2 separate regions of the Homo sapiens genome follow, and region 1 is linked to region 2. The links are contacts of gene promoters, found by promoter capture Hi-C in human tissues and cell types (Jung and others, 2019). All regions are on one chromosome and are shown on one strand. The core of a region is centred on a gene start or on the middle of the fragment in contact, and the rest is flanking DNA. Distances in the headings are between cores, read along the strand shown. Region 1 overlaps ITGA8 (integrin subunit alpha 8). Region 2 holds the start of ITGA8 (integrin subunit alpha 8).

Region 1 (5,456 bases), core at 426-2,925, 41 kb before region 2:
TGATAAATTGTTGTTAATAAGCATTGCTCTAACAATTTGTTACACATAAAAAGCAATTTTTAAAAGAGATCCTTCGGAGGCCTGCAGTTCATTTTCTTTCCTCTTTTGTTTTCAATTATTTAGTGTGTTATCATATTAAATAATTTTAATTTGACTCAATTAGGTAAGTTGAACTCTCTCCCTTGAGAGAGATAAATTCTGTTTTTTGGCACTGCCTCATAAGCAAAATATCAACATGTTTAGTGCTGTGCAGTTTTGCAGACATGGTCTTTTGAGCCTTCGTGATAGAAATAAAATTCTGTTCCAATTTATTTCAAGGACATAGTAATGCCTATTTTTTTCCATACATCCCCAGTGCCACCCCCTTCTCAGGAGAAAGAGCAAACACTCCAGACTAGCAAATATAAACATTTTCTCATGAATTGACATCCTCACCTTTCGTGCCTCATATCTTTAACTCTCAGTGGAAAATATAAAAACAAAAAAGTAATGATAAAAAGAATGATAAAAGACAGTAAACAGTTTATACGTTGATGAAATTTTTCTATACTATTTTCAAAACCACAGAATCTTTTCCCTCTACATTCTTACTGAACATCTCTTTTTAATTTTTTGAAAGGATATATGAATTTTAATATTAATATTAAATGTAACTGGTCAATTACAGTTAACAAAACAATGAATAGATTCATGTGATCTTTTTAAGAAACATTACTGAGTTTTTTAGATTTTCATTTAAAAAATTATTGCCACAAAGGATCAGAAGAAAGGCTGTTGCTTTTTATCATGTCTATTTCTCTACTATTTAATAGGCCGCTATGTGCATAAATTATTTACATAAAAATAAAAAGTGAATGGAAAAATTTTTTTAGAAAGCATTTGCCCAAACAGGCTAGGTATGTTCCTCAAGATTCTTTGGTTCTTTGGTGGTGGTGGTGGTTTTGGGGTGTGGGAGTGAGAGGCAGAGGGTAAAAAAAAATCAGATTAAATATTAGGAACTGCGAGACCAAAATAATTCACCTTATAAAAATCCAGACTAAATCCTGCTTGGCAGTAACCCTGGCCTTCCGGATCAGCATTGCCTAGAACGATCAAAATACATAAATGTTATAACGTTATCATTCCTGAAATATTTTTTAATAACCAATTCAGGATATTATGTTATTTTCTCTAGAACCTTCTAAATTAAAAATGATCAATATGTGTTTTATGTTTATTTTTAAAATGTTGTTCAAGTAATTTATTAAACATATTTCTGTCTGTTTTCTTACACCAAATAGCGTTGTGATTCTCTAGTAAGATCAACAGGAATAACATCCCTTTTGGCTACTCTATTGGGTTTTATGACTCACTTTCATTTGAAGAAATAAAATCTCTATCTTTGACTATATTCCAAATTTCCCATGAGGCAATAACGTGTCTCTCTTTTGCCCCCTCGTGCTGTGTGAAGGCAGATAGGTCTGTCATTCCCAAAAGTTGACACCTTGAGGAAGAAGGGGCAGTGCAAGATGACCTTTGTAGATGTCATCTTCTGGGCCACCAATAAGCATTTCCACTGTTACGCTCTTTAAGAGGAACTTAATTTTAAATTATCCTATTATGGCCAGTTGTGGTGGCTCATGCCTGTAATCCCAGCACTTTGGGAGGCCAAGGTGCGCAGATCATGAGGTCAAGAGATTGAGACCATCCTGGCCAACATGGTGAACCCCATCTCCACTAAAACCACAAAAATTAGCTGGGCATGGTGGTGCATGCCTGCAGGCCCAGCTACTTGAGAGGCTGAGGCAGGAGAATCTCTTGAACCCAGGAGGCGGAGGTTGCAGTGAGCCGAGATCATGCCACTGCACTCCAGCCTGGGTGACAGAGCAAGACTCCAACTCAAACAAAATAATAATAAAAACAAATTATCCTATTATAATAGGCTAGGTAAATTGGGAAATTGCATTTCTGGTCACAGTCTCACTGGACATTGCAATGCTAGTGTTCACAAAAGAGAAAATTCTAGTAGTGGCTTATCTTGCTTTCTATCCAATATGATTCACTAACTCATTGTCCAATAGGATCTCATGGTACAGTTGTAAGCTATAGGCAGGCCAACACGTTGATTTCAAGGCTATTGTTATCAAAAGTCTGTAGGGCATTAGGACCAGGAATTTACTACTTGTAACTTGTACTTTAAAAGAGTTTCTACAACTTCTAACATGCCTAAAATAGCCAAAATGTAGTGAATTAAGTAGAGGGAATCTCAATCCTGCATAGTTAGATTTGGACATGTAAATAATTATTTCTTTCTTATCAAGGATATTCCTCAATGGAAACTGAAATAAGAGAACAGGAAAGGAAATACATGTCATCACAGGAAATATTGATGACTGGGCATGCGCCTGTTCAGAAGCTTTTTGAAATGGACCTGGCCTTTCCGGCTTCCCTTAGAATGTCTTCCGGTTTTTTCTTTCCTTTGGTCATTAGTTAGCTAGTTTTAGCGCTGTCACCATCAATTTTTTCCAGATGCTCCTTTTTTTTTTTTTTTTTTTTTTTTTTTTTGAGATGGAGTCTCCCTCTGTTGCCCAGGCTGGAGTGCAGTGGCGCGATCTCAGCTCACTACAAGCTCCGCCTCCCGGGTTCACGCCATTCTCCTGCCTCAGCCTCCCGAGTCCTTTATTTTTAAAAACACTTTTTAACCTCATGCACTGTATTTTAACAAAATTTGTTCCTTATTTTACCGCTATATTTCATGATTTATGGTCATGAATCCTATAAAGTTCCCTAAAAGCTCATCTCTATAATCTGGAATATCTAAGTATCAATTTTCTAGAAGCTCATATGTGTAAATATTTATATGCATCCAGAAGTATATATGAATGCATGAGATATTACTCTGAACATATATGTGTTCATATGTGTTTTTATATTTATTTTTCCATGCACAAGCCTTTTAAAAATCCCTTTTAAATTCAACCCTGACTTTTTATTTTTATGATTGTAAATTATTCGAAAGGGAAGAAACATGACCATTCTTTGAAAGTATTGCTTTAAAACAGCAGGCTGAAAAAAATTAAGAGAAAACATTCATTTTTTTTTTTTTTACAAAATACACTGAGAAAATAATCAGCTCCAAATGTTTATTGTAAGTGGCAATTATAATAGAGTGTGAGGTTCTTTCCATTGCAAAGTCTTTTTTTTTTTCCTTGTTGAATCATAATTTATGAGAGCTGAAGGACTCTTTCTTCCTGGGACTTCAGAGCATTTGTGAACTTGATAATTATGTCCTAGAGTGAACTCAGGAATCCAAGGAAGCATGTGGATAATTTGCTACTATTTGTTGACGTCTTACCCAACAAATGGAAGGGTGTGTGTATGAACCATCTCCACCTGAATTATGAATGACCATGAGAGCCATAGGCAGGTCATCAATATGAATGAGCAGGTAATGTCTAACAATATCAGCAGAGCGGGTTTGCGGTATAAGATTAACATGAGGAGCTTCTTTAAATTCTCTTTTGAAAATAATATTGCTGATGTTTCCTGTTCTGGGATACTGACCATATGCTCATGAACAAGCTGGCTTTGTGTTAATGATCTGTGAACTTCTTGGCCATGACGGGAAGTCTGCTTCTTGGATGATCTGAGGAGGAAGAAGTACCCGTAGGAATAGGGAGACCAGGAGGATGTGAAAACTGTGGCTATACACCACAAAGGAAATAATTCATGGCAATTTATTGAGCTATTCTGCAACTCAACATGTGCTCCATTCTGTCTTTGTTGAGCTGTTAGGCTACTGTGTCCATGTAGCTTAAGATGCAAATGTACATTAGTGTACTTTTTAAAAAAATGGTTCAAACTCACTCTGAAACTTTTCCCCTACAAGTCTGCATTTCATGTGCTGTATTTTGATCTGAGCCCTCACATCCCACACAGGTAGTCTGGCAAAAAGGCAGAACAAGGAGTGACTAGTTTTATAAATATCATCCTTCAAGGCAGTTGGAAGAATAACCTACATTATCAAGGCAAAAGGCATATGAAGGATGGTCTTGTCTTTAGTTACAGTTATTTGCTGTTTGTTGAACAAGCCAGCTTGTCCATGAGCATATGGTCAATATCACAGAACAGGAACATGGGCAAATCATGGAGTATAGGATATGGACAGGTGTAAATATTGATGAAAAGTTCAATAATGAATCTCTCCACTACCATTCATTTTCTGATATATTTTGGATATCCTTTGTTATTGTTTGTGGGATTTTATCTTTAGCATAACAATACTGACCTCTTAATAAACCCAAGAGCACAGCACTTTGAATGGAACATGACACAAACTATGCCTCATGTTGGTTGTTGCCTGAGTCCGGGAAGTTTCTCTCTTCTCTCCTCCAATAATCATTTGCTAGAAGAATCCCTTTCTATCGTCTTGTCTAAAATGCTGCTCCTCCCCTGGCTTCCCCAGCACAGGTCTCTCCCTTCTTTCTCGTCTTGCTGTATTTTTTTGTAGCACTTTTCACTGCCTGACATTGCATCATAAACACATTTATTTACATGTTTACTGTCTAGAGGCAGTTCCTTGAACAGGGGGCTTTTTCCCTCTTGTTCTTTGCTGAATTTCCTAAACATAGAAGAGTTAGTTTACTGCTCAATGTGTGGTTTTTCTTTTTAAAGAAATCCTGCATTGAATAAATAATTGAGTCCCATGAACTACAAAGAACCCCTACTTTAAAGCTATTTAAAATAAAATCCTTATTCCATGGACTATCCATTCAGCTGACATTTGTTGTAATCTGAAGAAGTGTCTGATTTACCTCAGTATTTTTAAACAGAAAGCAATAATCTTCTCCTTGTTAAAAATCCTCACTAAAAGCCATCAGGTTAAATGTTCAAGCCAGGTGTGGCGGCGCACGACTGTAATCCCAGCACTTTGAAAGGCTGAGGCGGATGGATCGCATGAGCACAGGAGTTCAAGACCAGCCTGGACAACATGGCAGAAACCCCTCTCTACAAAAAATACAAAAATTAGGCATGGTGGCACATGCCTGTGGCCCCAGCTACTTGGCAGGCTGAGGTGGGAGGATTGCTTGAGCCCAGGAAGTCGAGGCTACATTGAGCCATGATCATCACACTATTGCACTCCAGCCTGGGTGACAGAGTGAGACCCTGTCTCAAAAAAAAAAAAAAAAAAAAATTTCTACTGCCTGTTATTTAGGCTTCTAAATCTCAGCAGCCTCTTTGTTAACCCTCTAATATCACTAATCGATTTTTTCTCTTCATTTATTTATGGCATTTGATCATTATCTTCCCTACATTAATCCTGAAATTTTAAAAACACTCAGGCAAAAGGGGGAAAATTTACATTTTAGAGCTCAAGCTAATTTGGGATTTAGTGTTTTTTCTTTAAGTCAATTTCCTGAAATCAGTCCTAGAATCTTCTTTCTACTACATTTTCCCTCCAATATGGTCTTGTGAAT
Region 2 (5,294 bases), core at 2,706-5,205:
CAGGCCATTCCCACTGGCAATCAAGGTTTCTGGGCCCATAGTACCCCCTGATGGCCGACATGGGGAACTTTCTTTTCCCAACAATTCCTTTCTCCTCCCCAGTGGGACCTCCCTGTCTTTCACAGGTCACAGCCTTGTTCATTCTGTCATGGACCATTCATTTCTCACAAACTTGTGTAGCCTTTCCTGCCTTGCTTTTTAAATTTCCTGTTCAATTATTTCAGGAACATTGATTTTTCTTCCCCTTTCTTTCTCTCACTTTGTTCCATTTGTGAATTCTGAAATTATTATGATTGTAGTTGATAAGTATAATAGTAGGATTAGTGCATTCATCTATTTATCAAGTAAACCACTATATATTTGGAAGTAAAATAAGACATAGTGTGGAATGAGCAGCATCAATCTCTAAAGCCCTTTGAGATATCTAGACATTTTCCTAACCTACACAAAAGAGGACATTGTCTTCTCCAAGTAACACTGACATTTTCTGGACATTATTTTTCTGTTTAATTGCCAACTTGTTCTAGTTTGTCCCCTACTGTTTTACTGCAAATATAATTCAGCTACAATAAGGGTTAAATGCATTCCTGTGGGCTATTCTGGAAACCAAAGCACATCTTTCAGCATTAGTTCTGTATGGGAGAGTGAATTCAAGGCTTCAAGCAATTGCTTTAGAATGAACTTGGAAAATATAACCTATTGTATTTTTTTTTTTTTTTTTGAGATGGAGTTTCACTCTTGTTGCCCAGGCTGGAGTGCAATGGTGCAATCTTGGCTAACTGCAACCTCTCCCTCCTGGGTTCAAGCAATTCTCCTGTCTCAGCCTCCCAAGTAGCTGGGATTACACCCTTAGGCCCGGCTGATTTTGTATTTTTAGTAGAGATGGGGTTTCACCATGTTGGTCAGGCTGGTCTTGAACTCCTGACCTCAAGTGATCCACCTGCCTCGGCCTCCCAAAGTGCTGGAATTACAGGCATAAGCCACCACGCCTGGCCTACCTATTGTAATTTAATATTGAAAATTTTCAGTTAGGAGTGGTCAGTTATTTTTTGAATTCATAGTTGACATCTGGATTCTCTGGTTTTTAATCTGTTGGCCTATGACATCTATTGGGATGAGTACTTACAAAGTAAGTCAGTTGTAACTTATCAGGGCAGACATTGATTCTTCCTTTATCAAAAGAAAAAAATACTAATCAGATCCTGATTTGATGTTATGAGACTATACAAGAAGATTATTAAATTCTTTTCCACGACCATAAATTGCTTCTTGGTGAAAACACATCAACCATGTCTCAAAATATACTTTCCTTAATGTAAATTCAAATAATGTTAATGATTCATGTCTTTATTTGGCCTGCTTTAAAATACTTTTAAAAATACAAATGATTCGGATATGAATTATTAAAATGGCATTAATTTTGTGTTTAAATGTTTAATTCTTTTGGTTTACGAAGCTTATTCTTAAACTAGAGAGCAGTAGCTAGAAAGTGTCTCAAGTCTTGATAAAATAACTAATTAAAAGATTTCTGTCACAAATTAACATCAAAAGGTTTAATCTTCCTGGTTGCTAATACTCAAATTTAAAAGTAAAAGCTTATAAAAACTGGTATAAAATAACAGAATATTTAATAAAATGATAAGCTATTGTGACCATATATAGACAGGCATGATAAAAATATAATTTTCCAATGCTTTTATAAAATACTTTCCTAATTTGGTCATAATTCAAGGTAATGCTTGTATAGTCTGTTTTGCTTTGAAATATTTTCATATTTATGAAACTGAAATTGTTTTCTCCTTTAACATAAAAGATACAAATTATAGTAACAAGTAAACATCATCCAGCCAATTTCATCGAAATTCTGTGAAAATATTCCGCATAAATTCCATATACGCACTAATCAAACAATTAAAAATCAAAGAAATCAAGTATGTCATAAAATAGTTGTGTGGTACACAAGGTATTTTAAACGATTATTTATCAAGGACCATTGTTCAAGCTGACATATTCGCATTTTTCTGGAAAGAGATATTTGCTTTCTGATAATATATACCTTTTGAATTCATAAAGTTTTGGTGGTAAAAATTAAAGCATTCGGTGTTAATGTTTTTGAAAGCATCGCATTTAAATTATTTTCTCAGGCTCTAAAGAGAAAACACCAGAGGAAACGTAACCAGACTGAATTGTTTAAAATGTATTTTCCCTTTAATTAAATAAGAAACATCTGTCTAGGGATTTTGGAAATGAATGTAATCCATCCACACTCTGCCTGCACTAGTTTGCATTCAATGTCTAATACTTTGAAAGAAAATTCTTTCTTTCTGTAAAGAATTAAACAGCAACGCGGAGTGATGTCTGGGTCTGCAGCAGCTAAGTCCTGCCTCCCGAGCTTGGGCACTGGAAACGCTAAGGATCTCTCTTTTTCCAGATCTGTCCTTGAGAAGCAACCAAATTCTCTCCACAGTCAAAGTTAGGACATAGTTTTTGTATTTCTCCAAAACATCCACTCACCCTGAAAATGCTCATCTCAGAAAGGTAAAGAAACAGGAGTTGCCAGGATGCATCCGAACACTCAGGGTCAAAATAGTGTCCTTTCTCTAGGGTTCACTAAACGTCTTCCTTCAGTTAACTGAGAGTTGAAAAAACTGATTTCTCTAGAGACCCACATAGCCCACAATACGGACATATCAGACAAGCTAAACGAGCAGCACACCAAGACAGCGGGAAGTCGCCTCTGGGATGGCCCTGGTTCTTCCAAACCCAGGCCCACAGCTTAGAAGGACAAATCTCACTTACTGGTGGTGTCAAACGGTATCTGCCTGCACTGCGCAGACCCCTCCGCGGGCCAAGGACAGTAATAGACGGCTCCCCCTTCCACGATATCGGGCTGGCTGGTGTTGGCTTTGGGCGCCCCCACCAAGACACTCGCTCTGCAAAAGAGTTGGAGAAAGTCACTCTTTGGGCGCCACAAAACCGTGCGCATGCAATGCAGTCTCTGTAACCTCCTGCCCGGGGACACTGGGGCAGGCGTGGAGGGCATGAACGTATTTATGATGAGGACCGACTGTCAAACTTGATTTCCTCTTGGAAACGGGGGTCCGCAACCTGGTTTGCAAGAATGCAAACGGTCCTGCTTCTCTAGGTGGAGCTCTGTGGGTACAGTGAGATGAGAGAAGGGGGTGGGGTAGGAGGAAGCCAAGGACAGAGCCCAGCTGCTGGTAGCCGACAGCTCTTGCGCCCAGACGCAATGGTTACAGACTCTGCATAAACAGACCTCGCTGTGGTGGCGGTTTTAACTGGCTTGGGTCTTCTGGGTCCTGTTCTCTCCTTTGTAGGATGCGTGCGTCTTGGTACCTGGAACACCCAGGACTTGCGTGTTCTATGCAAGTGGCATGTCTCTAGCTCAAAATTCACAAGGCACATCTAGCATGGCAGGGGAGAGAAGGGGCTGGTGGCGGGGAGAGGGACGGGACCCCGGGCAGGCGGCAGGACGGGGATCCCAGGCTGCGGGGGGACTCCGCGGCAGAGCCGCTGGGACCTGACCCGGGAGCGCCTTCGTCCCCGCGCGCACCTCCCCGGGTCGGGCGACTTACGTGCGGGCGTCGGGTATGTGGAAGTCCACGGCGTAGCCGAAGTAGCTGCCCTTGGGGCCGCTGTACACTGTGAGCTTTTCCACGTCCAGGTTGAACGCCTGACAGGCGGGGGACCACAGCAACATCCCCAGCGCGGCCGCGGCGCAGCAGAGGGGCGCGATCAGCGGCGCCTGGCTTCCCCGGGGACCGCGGCTGGCCCCGGGCGACATCTCCCTCCGCCCCGGTGGGTGGCTGCTACCCAGGAGCGCGAGCCGAGGACCCCTGCGGGGCAAGGGGGGCTGGTGGAATCTGGCGGTCCCCAGCTGCCCGTGTCCCGGGTCGGTGCGCTCGGCGCACCCGTGGTGACAGTGCCCGGCGTCTGCTCCCACCCGCCCGCCCGCCCAGCCGGCTCGGGGGGCTGGCCCAGGGGCTCTAGCCCTCCTCCGGCCGCGGGCAGGGACCAGCTCTCTCGCGGCGCCTCCTCGCGGCTGGTCTAGAGCCAGGGACTCCCGGGCGGCCCAGCTGGTGGCTGGAGCGCTGGGTGCCTCTTCGGGCTGCCCGGATTTCTATTGCAGTCCCATCTCAAGGACAATCAGTTTCGTCTCTGTCACCTCAAGCTATTTATTGCTTTAGAAGCAATGCCCCAGGTGGAGCGAGAGCTTGCTCCAGTTGTGTCAAAGGCGCAGCTTGGATGGAGAATGTGAAAACCAACCCCACCACCAGGAGGGGCAAAGCAATTATCTCTTCATCACCTCTGCAGCCTGACCTCAGCGTTCACGGCTTTGCACGTCTGTGATGAGAGTTAAAGTTGAAATGCAACAACCCTCTCCTCCCCTAAGTCCACCCCACCTCCTGGCAGAGCTAACTCATATACAAGAAAGCCTCGAGGGTTTTTTTTTGTTTTTGTTGTTGGGTGTCTGTGTGTGTGTGTGTGTGTGCGCGCGCGCCTGTGTGTGTGCATGTGTGAATTTTTTGTTTTTGTTTGTTTGGTTGGTTTGCTTTGTTTTATTTATTTTTTTTTTCTTTTTAGAGATAGGGTCTCTCTCTCGCCCAAGCTGGAGTGCAATGGTGCTATCATAGATCAATGAAATCTCAAACTCCTGGGCTCGAGCGATCCTCCTGCCTCAGCCTCCTGATTAGCTGGTACTGCAGATGACACATCACACCTGGTTAATTTTCTAATTTTTTTTTGTTGACACTGAGTCTGCTCATGTGGCCTAGGCTGGTCTCGATCTCCTGGCCTCAAGCCGTCCTGCCACCTCGAGTTGACTTTTAAAATTTCTTTTCTTTCTTTGTTTCTCTTTCTTTCTCCTTCTTCTTCTTCTTCTTTTTTTTTTTTTTTTTTTTTTTAAGGAGATGGGGGTCTCACCATGTTGTTCAACATGGTCTTGAACTCCTGGACTCAAGCGATCCTCCCACCTAAGCCTCCCACAGTGCTGGGATTTCAGGGTAAGCCGCCTTGCCCAGCCCTTGAGATTTTATTTAAATCTTTCTTAAAGGCATCTTGGGCATATTAAATGACTTAGTAGTAAATCTCCATCCTGTGTAATTGTGATGAAGTTTGGCGCAGTTAAGAATGTTGGAATTTACAGTTTACTTTCTGCGGGGGTAGAAGGTGTAGTTCACAGTCTACAGGAGTTCAGATTTCGGTTCTGATCCGTGGGTGTTGTCAATCTCTTCCCATGTCTCCTGTGTCGGAGAGGACGTGAGGCTTGAGTA

The links. The method cuts DNA at HindIII sites, captures the fragments that hold promoters and counts their contacts. A contact is called where the count stands out against the background at its distance.
Region 1: a contact is called between a fragment that was not itself captured here and the fragment with the promoter of ITGA8 in region 2, in 1 of the 25 tissues and cell types used here (aorta).

The regions. Positions count from the first base shown.
Region 1 is chr10:15,677,702-15,683,157 of GRCh38, forward strand. ITGA8 (integrin subunit alpha 8) reads right to left here. Exons shown (of 30, transcript NM_003638.3): 5 at 1,021-1,082. Among named protein-coding and RNA genes, the nearest start is that of ITGA8, 39 kb to the right of the region's middle. RefSeq lists an enhancer at 2,209-2,503. The HindIII fragment of the contact is 5,232 bases long and covers 1-4,291 here.
Region 2 is chr10:15,715,967-15,721,260 of GRCh38, forward strand. It overlaps ITGA8 (integrin subunit alpha 8), which reads right to left and starts at 3,956. Exons shown (of 30, transcript NM_003638.3): 1 at 3,597-3,956; 2 at 2,800-2,933. The coding sequence starts at 3,805. The HindIII fragment of the contact is 28,165 bases long and covers 51-5,294 here.